3 separate regions of the Homo sapiens genome follow, and all the other regions are linked to region 1. Evidence: promoter capture Hi-C in human tissues and cell types (Jung and others, 2019). All regions are on one chromosome and are shown on one strand. Each heading gives the region's core, a stretch centred on a gene start or on the middle of the fragment in contact. The rest is flanking DNA. Distances are from core to core; before and after follow the strand shown. Region 1 holds the start of FMO3 (flavin containing dimethylaniline monoxygenase 3). Region 2 holds the start of FMO4 (flavin containing dimethylaniline monoxygenase 4). Region 3 overlaps FMO1-AS1 (FMO1 antisense RNA 1).

The links. Contacts are between HindIII fragments. The study calls those that stand out against the background at their distance.
Region 2: a contact is called between the fragment with the promoter of FMO4 here and the fragment with the promoter of FMO3 in region 1, in 1 of the 25 tissues and cell types used here (adrenal gland).
Region 3: a fragment that was not itself captured here is called in contact with the fragment with the promoter of FMO3 in region 1 in 1 of the 25 tissues and cell types used here (aorta).

What each region holds. Positions count from the first base shown.
Region 1 is chr1:171,088,996-171,093,222 of GRCh38, reverse strand. FMO3 (flavin containing dimethylaniline monoxygenase 3) reads right to left here and starts at 2,318. Exons shown (of 9, transcript NM_001002294.3): 1 at 2,242-2,318; 2 at 433-570. The coding sequence starts at 564. The HindIII fragment of the contact is 16,457 bases long and covers 1-4,227 here.
Region 2 is chr1:171,312,244-171,316,470 of GRCh38, reverse strand. It overlaps FMO4 (flavin containing dimethylaniline monoxygenase 4), which reads right to left and starts at 2,288. Exons shown (of 10, transcript NM_002022.3): 1 at 2,058-2,288; 2 at 144-285. The HindIII fragment of the contact is 8,197 bases long and covers 1-4,227 here.
Region 3 is chr1:171,241,528-171,245,754 of GRCh38, reverse strand. All of the region lies in intron 2 of FMO1-AS1 (FMO1 antisense RNA 1), which reads left to right. Among named protein-coding and RNA genes, the nearest start is that of FMO1, 4.9 kb to the left of the region's middle. The HindIII fragment of the contact is 3,466 bases long and covers 516-3,981 here.

The DNA.
Region 1 (4,227 bases), core at 1,069-3,568:
GGGTCATGGCTACACAAAAGCCCAGACTTAACTGCTATACATTATATCCATGTAATAAAACTGCACTTGTACCCCCTAAATCTGTAAAAAAAAAAAAAGATGTGAAAAGTTATTGTGTTTTAAATGAGTAAATAATTATAACTACATAAACCTAACTAATATTTACCACTAATTTTATGTCCAAGTGGCTCTTATTAATGATCTATCAAGGGAGAACTGTAATGGAGAATTTCAAAGCCCATTGTCTAATTTACTTCTGACTTGCAAGGAGGTTACTTTCCAACCTGCTCTTGACACTGTACTTAGTGGATTCCAATTCTAACAGATATGATAACTGCCATGGTAGCAGGTTTGGAAACCTGTGTGCACACAGTGTGCTCTTATACACTTCCCAACCTATTTTCCTGTCTATTACAACAACATGCTACTCACTGAAAATTTCCACAGGCCCCCAATGTCATTGCTCTTCTCAAAGCAGGTGGGCTCCAGCCCCTCTTCCAGACAGCTCCTGATGGAGGCCAAGCCACTCACACCAGCTCCAATGATGGCCACTTTCTTCCCCATGGTAACCTGTGCAAAGGCCCAGAGAACATTTCCAGTAACAACATTGCTGAAAATGTATTTACTTATTTATCTATTTATTTTGATTTCGCTCTTTGGCTTAATAAAAACTTTACTTTTTAATAAACACTGGCTGAGTATGGTAGCTCACGCCTGTAATCCCAGCACTTTGGGAGGCTGAGGTGGGAGGATCACTTGAGCCCAGGAGTTTGAAAGCAGCCTGGACAACAGAGTGAGACCCTGTCTCCACAAAACAAAACAAAAAACAAACAAAATCAGCTGGGTGTGGTGGCACATGCCTGTACTCCCAGCTACTCAGGAGGCTGAGGCGGTAGGATCACTTGAGTTCAGGAGTTCCAGGCTGCAGTGAGCCGTGATTGTACCACTGCACTCCAGCCTGGGTGACAGAGTAAGACCTTGTCTCTAGAAAACAAATTCCTTTTAGTGATCTAACTACATTTTCATTTCTCTCTAATTTCTAAAGAGAAAGTTTTCTTCTGAAAAAAAAATAAGCACTTTGTTTTTAGTCATCAGCTCTCCAAAATTAAGAGACTGATGACCCAGCATACATATTTATCTTTTTTGCTTTTGGACTTTGTCATTTACTGTCTACCAAAAAGAGTAAGCAGAAGAAATAAAGATTCGCAACTAAAACACCTGTAGACACATCCACCCACCCACCCACATACATATGCCTGTATATGGGAATGAAGAAACACATATGTATATGTATACACACACACAGTCATACACACACACACACACACACGCAATCTGTATCTTCTTTTTACTTAGATACGGATAATGAGGAACAAGGTCTGAAGATGTCTGTATTTCAGTGTGCCAGGTAGTCACCCCTTCTCCCCATCAATAATGTACTTCACCTTCTCAATTAAAAAGACAAGTAAATGGTGCATACCTATAGTCCCAGCTACTCTGGGATTATATAGTCCTGTTGAGCTGGGGTATCGCTTGAGCCCAGGAGTTTGAGGCTGCAGTGAGCTATGGTTACAGCACTGCACTGTAGCCTAGGTGACAGAGTGAGACCTTCTCTCCGGGGGGTGTTGGGGAAAGAAGTCATGTTCTTACCTAAAAACAATTTTTTCCCACTACCTTCAGCGTCCATTCCCCTCTAAGAAAATTACGTTTCCTAACTTTTTTCTGTTCCTGACACTGTCTTTAGGCTCTACCACTACTTCTTTCACTACTTTTTTTTTTCTTTTTAGACAAAATCACATAGCTATGCAGGGAAATAGACTTGGATGATTAAACATCATGATCCGTGATTCCCAGAAACAAACAAACTGCCTGAATTATATCATTCTCATTCTAGCCATATTTGGTATAAAACTACAGCATGCTCCTTCTTCATTTACCCATCCCACCCTCAACCCTTTACTATATCACCTTTTATTCTTTTTCTTTTCTTTTTTTTTTTGAGACGGAGTTTCGCTTTTATCCAGGTTGGAGTACAATGGTGTGATCTCGGCTCACTGCAACCTCTGCCTCCCAGATTCAAGTGATTCTCCTGCCTCAGCCTCCCAAGTAGCTGGGATTACAGGCATGCACCACTACGCCTGGCTAATTTTTGTATCTTTGGTAGAGATTTGGTTTCACCATGTTGGTCAGGCTGGTCTCAAGCTCCTGACCTCAGGTGATCCACCCGCCTCAGCCTCCTACCTTTTTAATTTTCCTACCCGTTCTTTGTCTTCTTTTCTTCTGTGTGTCTACGTCCTGTCCAACCGTCTGGGCAGTTTGAAAGAGAAAATGTTCTAGTGAGCCTACATATTAGGAAGATTGTTGAAAAATGGGAGGAGCTGCTCTTAAAGAGATACTCATTTATTGGTCCTTGAATGGGTGAGCACACGCCAACCCTCTGTGATGGATGGGACTGTAGGCCAGTCTCCCATGGCCACCCAGTTTCTACTTTTCCTTTGATTATGGTAAACACAAGCTGCTGGTTATACTCTTGGACCCTTGGCCTGGGAGTCAAGTAGTTTCTCCCAGGTGACTTTGCAGTTCTGTACTCCATTTTATTATGTGTTATTTGAAAGTTTACCTTGTTTTCCTTATTCCTAGTTCTTTTGTGGGTAGCTCATAGTAGTCCTCCAAATACTGTAGAAACTTAGCTACTTAATTGAGATAGCCCAATAAGGAGGATGACTTTTCTCTGCTCTCTCTTTTCATGTCCTGTCTTGGAATTTTGGGGTCAAAGGCCTGTATTTCTCAAGCTTATATTTACTTGTTTCTGAGTACAGTGTGTGGTCACAGAAAAGATCAAAATTCCACAAATTGATCTATTAGTACCAGGAACCAGGTAAAATTAGTACCAGGTAAAATTATGTTGGCAGTTAGACAAAATAAACTGCACCTAACTCCCAGTCATGAAATATAGTAGAATTTCAAAAAAAGTTTTCCTATCAACTATATTTTGATGTCACTTAGAATTATAACATCTCACTCATTTTGTCTAGTTAACTCCTTCATTAAGCAAGTGATACTTAGTGTAAACTGGTATATGTCTAATTTTGAGGAATTACCCTTCATGCCTTTTGAAGACAGTAATCTTCATCTCTGAAGTGTGAGTATGAGAGATTCCAAATCACTTCTATAGCTCTGTGGCCTTGGGCAAATCACTTAACCTTTCCAATCGTTGATTTACTCATTAATAAAATAGGGATAACTACACTATTAATTCCTGTCTGGCTATTTTTTTTTTAACAAGGATTAGAGGATTAAAGGGTATGTACACATAAATACATGTATACATAGGTACATATAAAATGTGGCATGTAGTTAAAAATGAGCAAATGTGACTTGTAGATAAAAATTAAAAACAAGTCATAGGTTCATGAAATTTTCTAGGGCTGCAATTCAGACAACATGATTTTCTCTGCTCTCATTTTACATAGAACTTCTTTTCAGTTTTTAATGCTACATAAATAGAATTAAAATAATGCAAAGAAAAGATTGTGACTACTTCAGGAAGCAATACTACTCCTATAGCCTTATTCATTTAAAGATTGGCAGGACACACCCAATTCTACCTTGGCCTCCGATGTTTTATCTCTCTAGGAGGTGAAAAGGCCACCTATTCTTTGCTGTCCTTCACAAGAATGTATCTGAAGTCGACACATTTATTAGTCCTGTCTCTCTCTAGCCTATCCTTTGCTTGCCACAGCTTTCTGCAGAGCCCCTTTTTAAATCTTCAGAATCTCAAATGCCCAGGCTCTGGTTGGGGCAGTGGGCATTCTCTACTCTGTTGTCCCCTCCAAATCACAAAACTGCTAAGAAGAAACTTTCATCCCTGGATGGTTGCTAGATTATTGTTGCTGTTGGAGGATATGAGTGGAAGACTTATATTCTGTTCTCTTGCTCTATATTTTCTTTGTATTTTAAAGAAATTTTTGTTTTCTTCTAATTGATTTGCTGGAGGCAAGGCATATATCTCTTGTGACACCTGTTGTCATGTCTGATGATGCATAACAGTTGAAAGATTTCTATAAAATGAGAGTGGCTTTTGGAGACTCAGACTTGATCATCAAAGCTATGATGGAACATTCCAAAGATGTGGATTCTTTAGGGTCCATATTCTGAAGCTAATATCTCGTAAAGAATCGAGTGAACAACAATTAGTGCAGGCAGTGCTAAATGAAGCTGACAGTC
Region 2 (4,227 bases), core at 1,039-3,538, 220 kb before region 1:
AAAGTGCCTTGCACAAAATATTTACTCAGTGTTCATTCTCTACCTCCCTACTTGTCTCCTGTCTTCCTTCTCTTCTCCTTGGAAAAGACAGTTCATACAGATAAAATGTATCAACAAGTTTGGAAAGGAGTAGGCAGACATACCTGTGTTTTCCTTTGAGTTGAGGAGTAGGAGGTTTAGACAGCTTCTAATCAGAAACAAATGGCCTCCACCAATAAGAATACTTGAATTTCCAGGCCACTAGGTAGAGGCCTGGGGCTGGCAGATCTTTGCTGTGCTCTATCTCTGCAATCATAAGGTAAAAAGAAATGACTGCTAACTGAATTGCCAAAGTGAAAAATATACTGACGTGAATAGACTGGAAGCAAATTAATTCATTCAACAAATATGCCCTGGGTACCTCTAAGTGCAGGTCCTAAGCTAAGTATGGGGCCCTGAAGATAATGAAGACCCTGCAACTAAGAAATAGTAGTAAAGTCTTAGAATTTAAAAAAGACCGTGACTGCTCTTAAGATGTTGTATATGGAGAGGCTGATACTACCTTGTGCTAAGTCCTATGGTAGCAGCATGCTCTAGGCATGAATGCTTGCACTCTCCTGGCCTGTTTATTATCCCTGTCTAGAGACCTAGTTAGTGACACAGAGTGGCCTGTGGGGTTAAAAACGTGCTGGGCAAAAGCACTTTAAGGACTGACTTAGAGACTCTACAGGCAGTAGAAACAAATTGGGAATTAGCACCTTTTAAAATTAATCCGTATTTACAGACTATAAATTTCTGAATGGGAGCAACCTTTTTAAATTTTGCCTTGAGTCAGTAGAGGAAGGTAGTGAGTGAACTGGAAATTGAGAGATCTGAGTTCTAGTTCTGCTTCTGCCTCTAAGCAGCTTGTAACCCTGGACACAATTCTCAATTTCTCTGAGCCAGTGCTTCCACATTTGTAAAACAGAGGGTTCAAGTGGCTTTCTCTTTGTTTCCTTCAAGCTTGAAAGGACTGTTCTTATGTCTGAAAACCAAGTAATTGGTGCACAAAAAAAAAAAGATATGAATTCAAAGGTAGGCGAGAATACTGCAGGCTTGAAGGATTGGGAGAACGTGTGTGCAAACTCTGCAAACTATAAAGTGGACTTCATAAGGTACTTGGTTGCTCAAAGGTGCTTATATTTATTTATTTATTTATTTGAGTTGGAGTCTCACTCTGTCTTCCAGGCTGGAATGCAGTGGCACAATTTCGGCTCACTGCAACCTCCACCTCCTGGGTTCAAGTGATTCTCCTGCCTCAGCCTCCTGAGTAGCTGAGACTACAGGCAGGCGGCACCACGCCTGGATAATTTTTGTATTTTTAGTAGAGACGGGGTTTCACCATGTTGGTCAGGCTGGTCTCAAACTCCTGATCTCAAGTGGTCTGCCCTCCTCGGCTTTCCAAAGTGCTGGGATTACAGGCGTGAGCCACCGTGCCAGCCATAGGTTGCTTATATTTAGTCCCTTGGCAGAAAGGAGACCTGACCTATTGAACTAGACCTTTGTACAACGGGAAAACCCCACCCTATACCTGACTGACCAGCAAATGTAGGAATCCTTTATGAGACATGGAGAGACTTGGGTGATTTGCAAATCATGTAATCAATTATGATTTCTTTGAATTTGAAATTTGATCATTTTATGTTTCTTATCATCATCCTACCATGCTCTTGCTTTGTTACAGTATTTTTTTCCCACGCCATCTATGGGGTATTTGTTTCCCAATGGCTGGCATTTCCATCTCATTCATAAGATGAAATCAGAGGTCACTGGAGTCACTGAAAGTCTCATGATTCTGTTTATCTCACTGACACTTTCCTTTTGGATGGTTCTGTCCACAACATAACTTTGTTTCCTTACAACTTCCCTTTGCTTCCTGACTCTCTCCTTAATTCTCTTGCTTTAGCCCTAGTCAAGAGACCCCAAAAGAAGATAATCACATTCATTCTTAAGGAACACACTCCAAGAAAAACATTCATCTTTTGTGAAAGCAGTTTCTGGATCATTTCCCCATTAAAAAAAAAATCCAGGACACTTACCTTGGTTAGCATAGAGCAGATTCTTTGACTTAAATTATTTCTCAAAGTCAAGGAAAGTGTTTGTCTTTTTTTTTTAAAAAAGCTCAAAACCCAAATTCTTTTTTCTGAAAGAAAAATAAATGGAAAGATGACTTTTGTAAAAGTGCCCTCAGTTTAAAACAAAAGCCATTCGTCTTTTCTGTTATGCTAGTGACAGCAGAAAGTATACAGACTAAGGAAAAAAAGTTGTGTAAGAGGCAAGCGTGATACTTCCGTGATCTTAAGGGAGGGCGGAATGGTGAGTTAGAATACAGCTGTTGGATTGGCAGAACATAAACGCTTCCTGCCCCTTTACCCCACCCTCCTCAACGTCATAGTTCTGGCAAAGCCCTAAAGCTATGGGAAGCACATGATAGCGTCGCTTTTGCCATTATAGTCTGTAGAGGGCGCCAAATCACCCCAAATTACAGCTTTCTCAGCGAAACAGGAGTTCTACTTTTGGAAACAAACTTCTACACCCTGACTCTTGCTTGGATTACCATAGGAGCTGTCCAAAGGAGAAAGTTATTTAGATGACCATTACCTCATCAAGTTCTTTCATGCTTGGAGTTCTCCAACCCCAGAAATGTGATTTTAAAGTTCAGGACTTACAAGGAATTTAAGCTGTTTTGTCCTTCAGATTGGATCAGCAGAGGGAGCTGGTGAAATGTGTTTGAGAAAGCATAAAGCTATTTTTAGATATTAACCTAGGGCACAAGAAAGGTAATAATTATAGAAGCTGTGGCAGAAATAGAAAACTTAACTGTTTTTCCTTCCACTGTGTGCTTGTAAGATAATATAACAGACCATCTTTAGGACTTGTGTTTAGGGACATTTTCCAACATGGTTCACTGAACAATTTCTAAACCACATTTGCTTGTGACTACACATGCAAATGCCTACAGGAGTGAGGAGGGTAACATACACGAGGAAAGTGGGCCAGATATGATCTGACTGGAAAGTACTTTCTCTGTCTATTCAGTTCAGCTAAATGTTGCTATTTGAGAAAATGAGCCCAATATGGCAAGGCCTTAGGTTCTTTTCAGTAAAAGCTGCAAATACAGATTTTAATATAAAATCTTCTGTTGGCAGCAAATATTTTCTTTTGAAAAATATCATGGAATATTATGCAGCCATAAAAAGAAATAAGATCATGTCCTTTGCAGGGACATGGATGAAGCTGGAAGCCATCATCCTCAGCAAACTAACACAGGAACAGAAAACCAAACACTGCATGTTCTCACTCATAAGTGGGAGTTGAACAATGAGAACACATGGACACAGAGAGGGGAATGTTGTAGGGCCTGTTGTAGGGTAGGGGGTGAGGAGAGGGAACTTAGAGGAGAACAGGTCAATAGGTGCAGCAAATCACCATGGCACACGTGTACCTATGCAACAAACCTGCACGTTCTGCACATGCATCCCACTTTTTTTTAGAAGAAATAAAGAAAAAAATTTAAAAAAAGAAAAAAAAATATTGTGTCCAGAGTTAGTTCCTTCCGGTGGGTTCCTGGTCTCCCTGACTTCAAGAATGGAGCTGCGGACCTTTGTGGTGAGTGTTACAGTTCTTAAAAGATGGCACAGACCCAAAGAGTGAGCAGCAGCAAGATTTATTGTGAAGAGCGAAAGAACAAAGCTTCCACAGAGTGGAAGGGGACCCGAGCCAGTTGCTGCCGCTGGCTGGGGTGGCCAGCTTTCTCTTATTTGTCCCCTCCCATGTCCTGTTTCTGTCTTATCAGAATGCCCTTTTCTCAATTCTCCCCACGATTGGTTACTTTTAGAATCCTGCTGATTGATCCATTTTACAGAGCGCTGATTGGTCCATTTTACAGAGCACTGATTGGTCCATTTTACAGAGAACTGATTGGTGCATTTTACAAACTTCTTGCTAGCTACAGAGCACTGATTGGTGCATTTTACAATCCTCTTGTAAGACAGAAAAGTTCTCCAAGTCTCTACTCGACCCAGGAAGTCCAGCTGGCTTCACCTCTCAATACCCCCTTTAAACAGGACACCCCAACTGCTTTTGAGAATTGCGCAATGACTGCTCTAGCTACTTCCTGCTGGATAGGGGTGAAGAAGAGACCCTGAATTGTAGTATCCTCCAGAGGGAAACTCTCTAGGTATCAAAGGGCCAGTGGGTCGATCCAGG
Region 3 (4,227 bases), core at 999-3,498, 150 kb before region 1:
CTGAATTGGTAGACAATAATGCTCTTTAGGAAATATTCTGGACCTCCTACCTTCAGGGAAGATGAATGGTAGGATTGTTCTTCTTGGCCCTCTAGCGGTTGGTTGGGAGGAATGTGACTCGTTCTGGTCAAAGAACTGTGAGCTAGAGTAAGGTGTCCTTTCTGGGCTAGAGCACTTAATTGCCAGTAAGATTCCATAGAACTTTCTTTTCCTTCAGTGTGGTAATCAGCAACTTTCAAGATGGCTCTTCTATTAGTCCGAATACCTGGTGAATGTGATGAGCAGGGCCTACACTAATGGACACATACATGAAATAATCTTTGTTTTATTTCAAGGTATCGAGGTTTGGGGATTGGTTGTTAATGCATCATACCAAGTCTTTATTGATCAATGCACTAGAGGGATGTTTCTTAGCTCCTTCATTGTATTTCTCAATCATCTTCTTTTTTAAAAAGTATATTTTTTATTTCGATAGGTTTTTAGGGAGCAGGTGGTGTTTGGTTACATGAAAAAGTTCTTTAGTGGTGATTTGCGAGATTTTGGTGCACTCATCACCCAAGCAGTGTACACTGTACGCAATGTGTAGTCTTTTATGCCTCACCTCCCTCCTGCCCTTTCCCCTAAGTCCCCAAAGTCCATCGTATCATTCTTATGCCTTTGCATTCTCATAGCTTAGCTCCCACTTATGAGTGAGAACATACAATGTTTGGTTTTCCATTCCTGGGTTACTTTACTTAGAATAATGGTCTCTAACTCCATCCAGGTTGCTGCAAATGCCATTATTTTGTTCCTTTTTTTATGGTTGAGTAGTGTTCCATGGTGTGTGTGTGTGTGTATATATATATATGTATCATAAATTATTATCCACTCATTGATTGATGGGCATTTGAGCTGGTTCTATATTTTGGCAATTGCAAATTGTGGTGACGTAAACATGCTTGTGCAAGTATCTTTCTTGTGTAATGACTTCTTTTCCTCTGGTTAGATACCCAGTAGTGGGATTGCTGAATCAAATGGTAGAACTACTTTCAATTCTTTAAGGAATCTCCACACTGTTTTCCATAGTGGTTGTACTACTTTAAATTCACACCAGCAGTGTAAAAGTTTTCCCTTTTCACCACATTCATGCCAACATCTATAATTTTATATTTTTAAAATTATGGACATTCTTGCAGGAGTAAGGTGGTATTGCATTGTGGTTTTGATTTGCATTTCCCTGATCATTAGTGATGTTGAACATTTTTCCATATGCTTGTTGGCCATTTGTATATCTTCTTTTGAGAATTGTCTATTCATGTCTTTAGCCCACTTTTTGATGAGATTGTTCGTTTTTTCCTGCTGATTTGTTTGAGTTCCTTGTAGATTCTGGATATTAGTCTTTTGTTTTATGTATAGATTGCAAAGATTTTCTCCCACTCTGTGGGTTGTCCGTTAACTCTGCTAATTATTTCATTTGTTGTGCAGAAGCTTTTTAATTTAATTAAGTCCAATCTATTTATCTTTGTTTTTGTTGCATTTGCTTTTGGCTTCTTGGTCATGAAGTCTTTGCTTAAGTCAATGTCTAGAAGAGTTTTTCTGATGTTATCGTCTAGTATTTTTATGGTTTCAGGTGTTAGATTTGTCTTTCATTCATCTTGAGTTGTCAACCATCTTCTTCAGTCTCACTTCCATTACTCTATTTCACTTCTCTGATTCACAGTTAGAGCCACAGAATTTTAGAGCTGAAAGAGAGCACAGAATTTACTTAGTCTGAAAATTGGACCCACCCCGTGAAATTGTTTTTCTCTCTACAAAAAACAAAGTTAAGACAAACACAATTCCCTAACTCACAACTTCCCGCTACACTCGAAGCATCAAAGGTCCCCTACCTACACAGATCTTCCCCACAGATACCTGTCATTCTAAAATGTGAGTGTTTGTTTTTTAATGCCACACATTAAAGGAAGTAATTCCCTCTGTTCCTTACACCTCGAGGTTATTATTTTTCTTTTCCTGAGAACCCACCTTTAGAATGAAAGCACTGAAAGTGGAGTTGGAGGGAGAACCAAGACTACTTAAGGCCAATTATTATGCTTGAAATGAGTTTACTAGTGTCAGTAGTGGTGATTCAGTGACTCACATATCCACTATCTGAAGATTGGAGGAAACAGCCACTTTTATGTTTTTCTTTTTAAGAATTTCTTTAAACATCTTTATAGCTTGATAAACATTTGTGACAAAGCCTGCAACTGTACGTTAGAAACTATCTTATCTATCATATCACTTAGAATTCTATCTTGAGTCTGCCTAAGGGGTTTGTAATTAATACAAAAGGTATTACATGGTATCATTTTTTAAAATTTTTTCTAAAAAAATGGGTACATGTGCAGAATGCGTGGGTTTGTTACATAGGTATACATGCGCCATGGTGGTTTGCTGCATCGTCTAAGTTCCCTTCCCTCACTCCTCACCCCCAACAGGCCCTGGTGTCTGTTGTTGCCCTCTCTGTGTCCGTATGTTCTTATTGTTCAACTCCCACTTATGAGAGAGAACAAATGGTATTTGGTTTTCTTTTCCTGTGTTAGCTTGCTGAGGATGATAGCTTTCAGCATCATCCATGTCCCTGCAAAGGATATGATCTCATTCCTTTTATAGTATCCCATGCTGTATATATGCCACACTTTCATTATCCAGTCTATCATTGATGGGCATTTGGTTTGGTTCCATGTCTTTGCTATTGTAAATGGTGCTGCAATAAATGTGTGCATGTGTCTTTACAGTAGAATAATTTATATTCCTTTGGGTATATATCCAGTATTGGAATTCTAGGTCAAATGTTATTTCTGGTCCTAGATCCTTGAGGAATCACCATACTGTCTTCCACAATGGTTGAACTAACTTACATTCCCACCAACAATGTAAAAGCATTCCTATTTCTCCACAGACTCACCAGTATCTATTGTTTCTTGACTTTTTAATAATTACCATTCTGACTAGTGTGAGATGGTATCTCTTTGTGGTTTTGATTTGTATTTCTCTAATGATCAGTGATGTGGAGATTGTTTTCATGTTTGTTAGCTGCATAAATGTCTTCTTTTGAGAAGTGTCTGTTCATATCCTTTGCCCACTTTTTGATGGGGTTGTTTTTTTTCTTGTAAATTTGTTTAAGTTTCTCGTAGATTCTGGATGTTAGAGCTTTGTCAGATGGATAGATTGCAGAAATTTTCTCCCATTCTCTAGGTTACCTGTTCACTCTGATAATAGTTTCTTTTGTTGTGCAGAAGCTCTTTAGTTTAATTAGATCCCATTTATCAATTTTGGCTTTTGTTGCAATTGCTTTTGGCGTCTTAGTCATGAGGTCTTTGCCCATGCCTATGTCCTGTATGGTATTGCCTAGGTTTTCTTCTAGGGTTTTTAAGGTTTGTGGTTTTACATTTAAGTATTTAATCCAACTTGAGTTAATTTTTGTATAAGGCTTAAGAAGTGTCCACTTTCTGTTTTCTGCCTATGGCTAGCCAGTTTTCCCAGCACCGTTTACTGAATAGGAGATCCTTTCCCCATTGCTTGTTGTTGGCAGGTTTGTCAAAGATCAGATGGTTGTAGATGTGTGGTGTTATTTCTGAGGTCTCTGTTCTACTCCATTGGCCTATATGCCTGTTTTGGTACCAATACCATGCTATTTTGGTTACTGTAGCCTTGTAGTATAGTTTGAAGTCAGGTAGTGTGTTTCTTCTAGCTTTGTTGTTTTTGCTTACAATTGTCTTGGCTATACCGGGTCTTCTTTGATTTCTTATAAAGTTTAAAATAATTTTTTAAATTCTGTGAAGAATATCAATGGGAATAGCATTGAATCTGTAAGTTATTTTGGGCGGTATGGCCATTTTCATGATAGTGATTCCTCCTATCCATGAGGATGGAATGTTTTTCCATTTGTTTGTGTCCTCTCTTATTTCCTTGAGCAGTAGTTTGTATTTCTCCTTGAAGAGGTCCTTTACATCCCTTGTTAGCTGTATTCCTAGGTATTTTATTCTCTTTGTAGCAATTGTGAATGGGAGTTTGTTCATGATTTGGCTCCCTGCTTGTCTATTGTTGGTGTAAAGGCATGCTTGTGATTTTTGCACATTGATTTTGTATCCTGAGATTGCTGAAGTTGCTTATCAGTTTAGAGTTTTGGAGTTGAGATCATGAGTTTTCTAAATGTACAATTATGTCATCTGCAAACAGAGACAATTTGACTTCCTCTCTTCC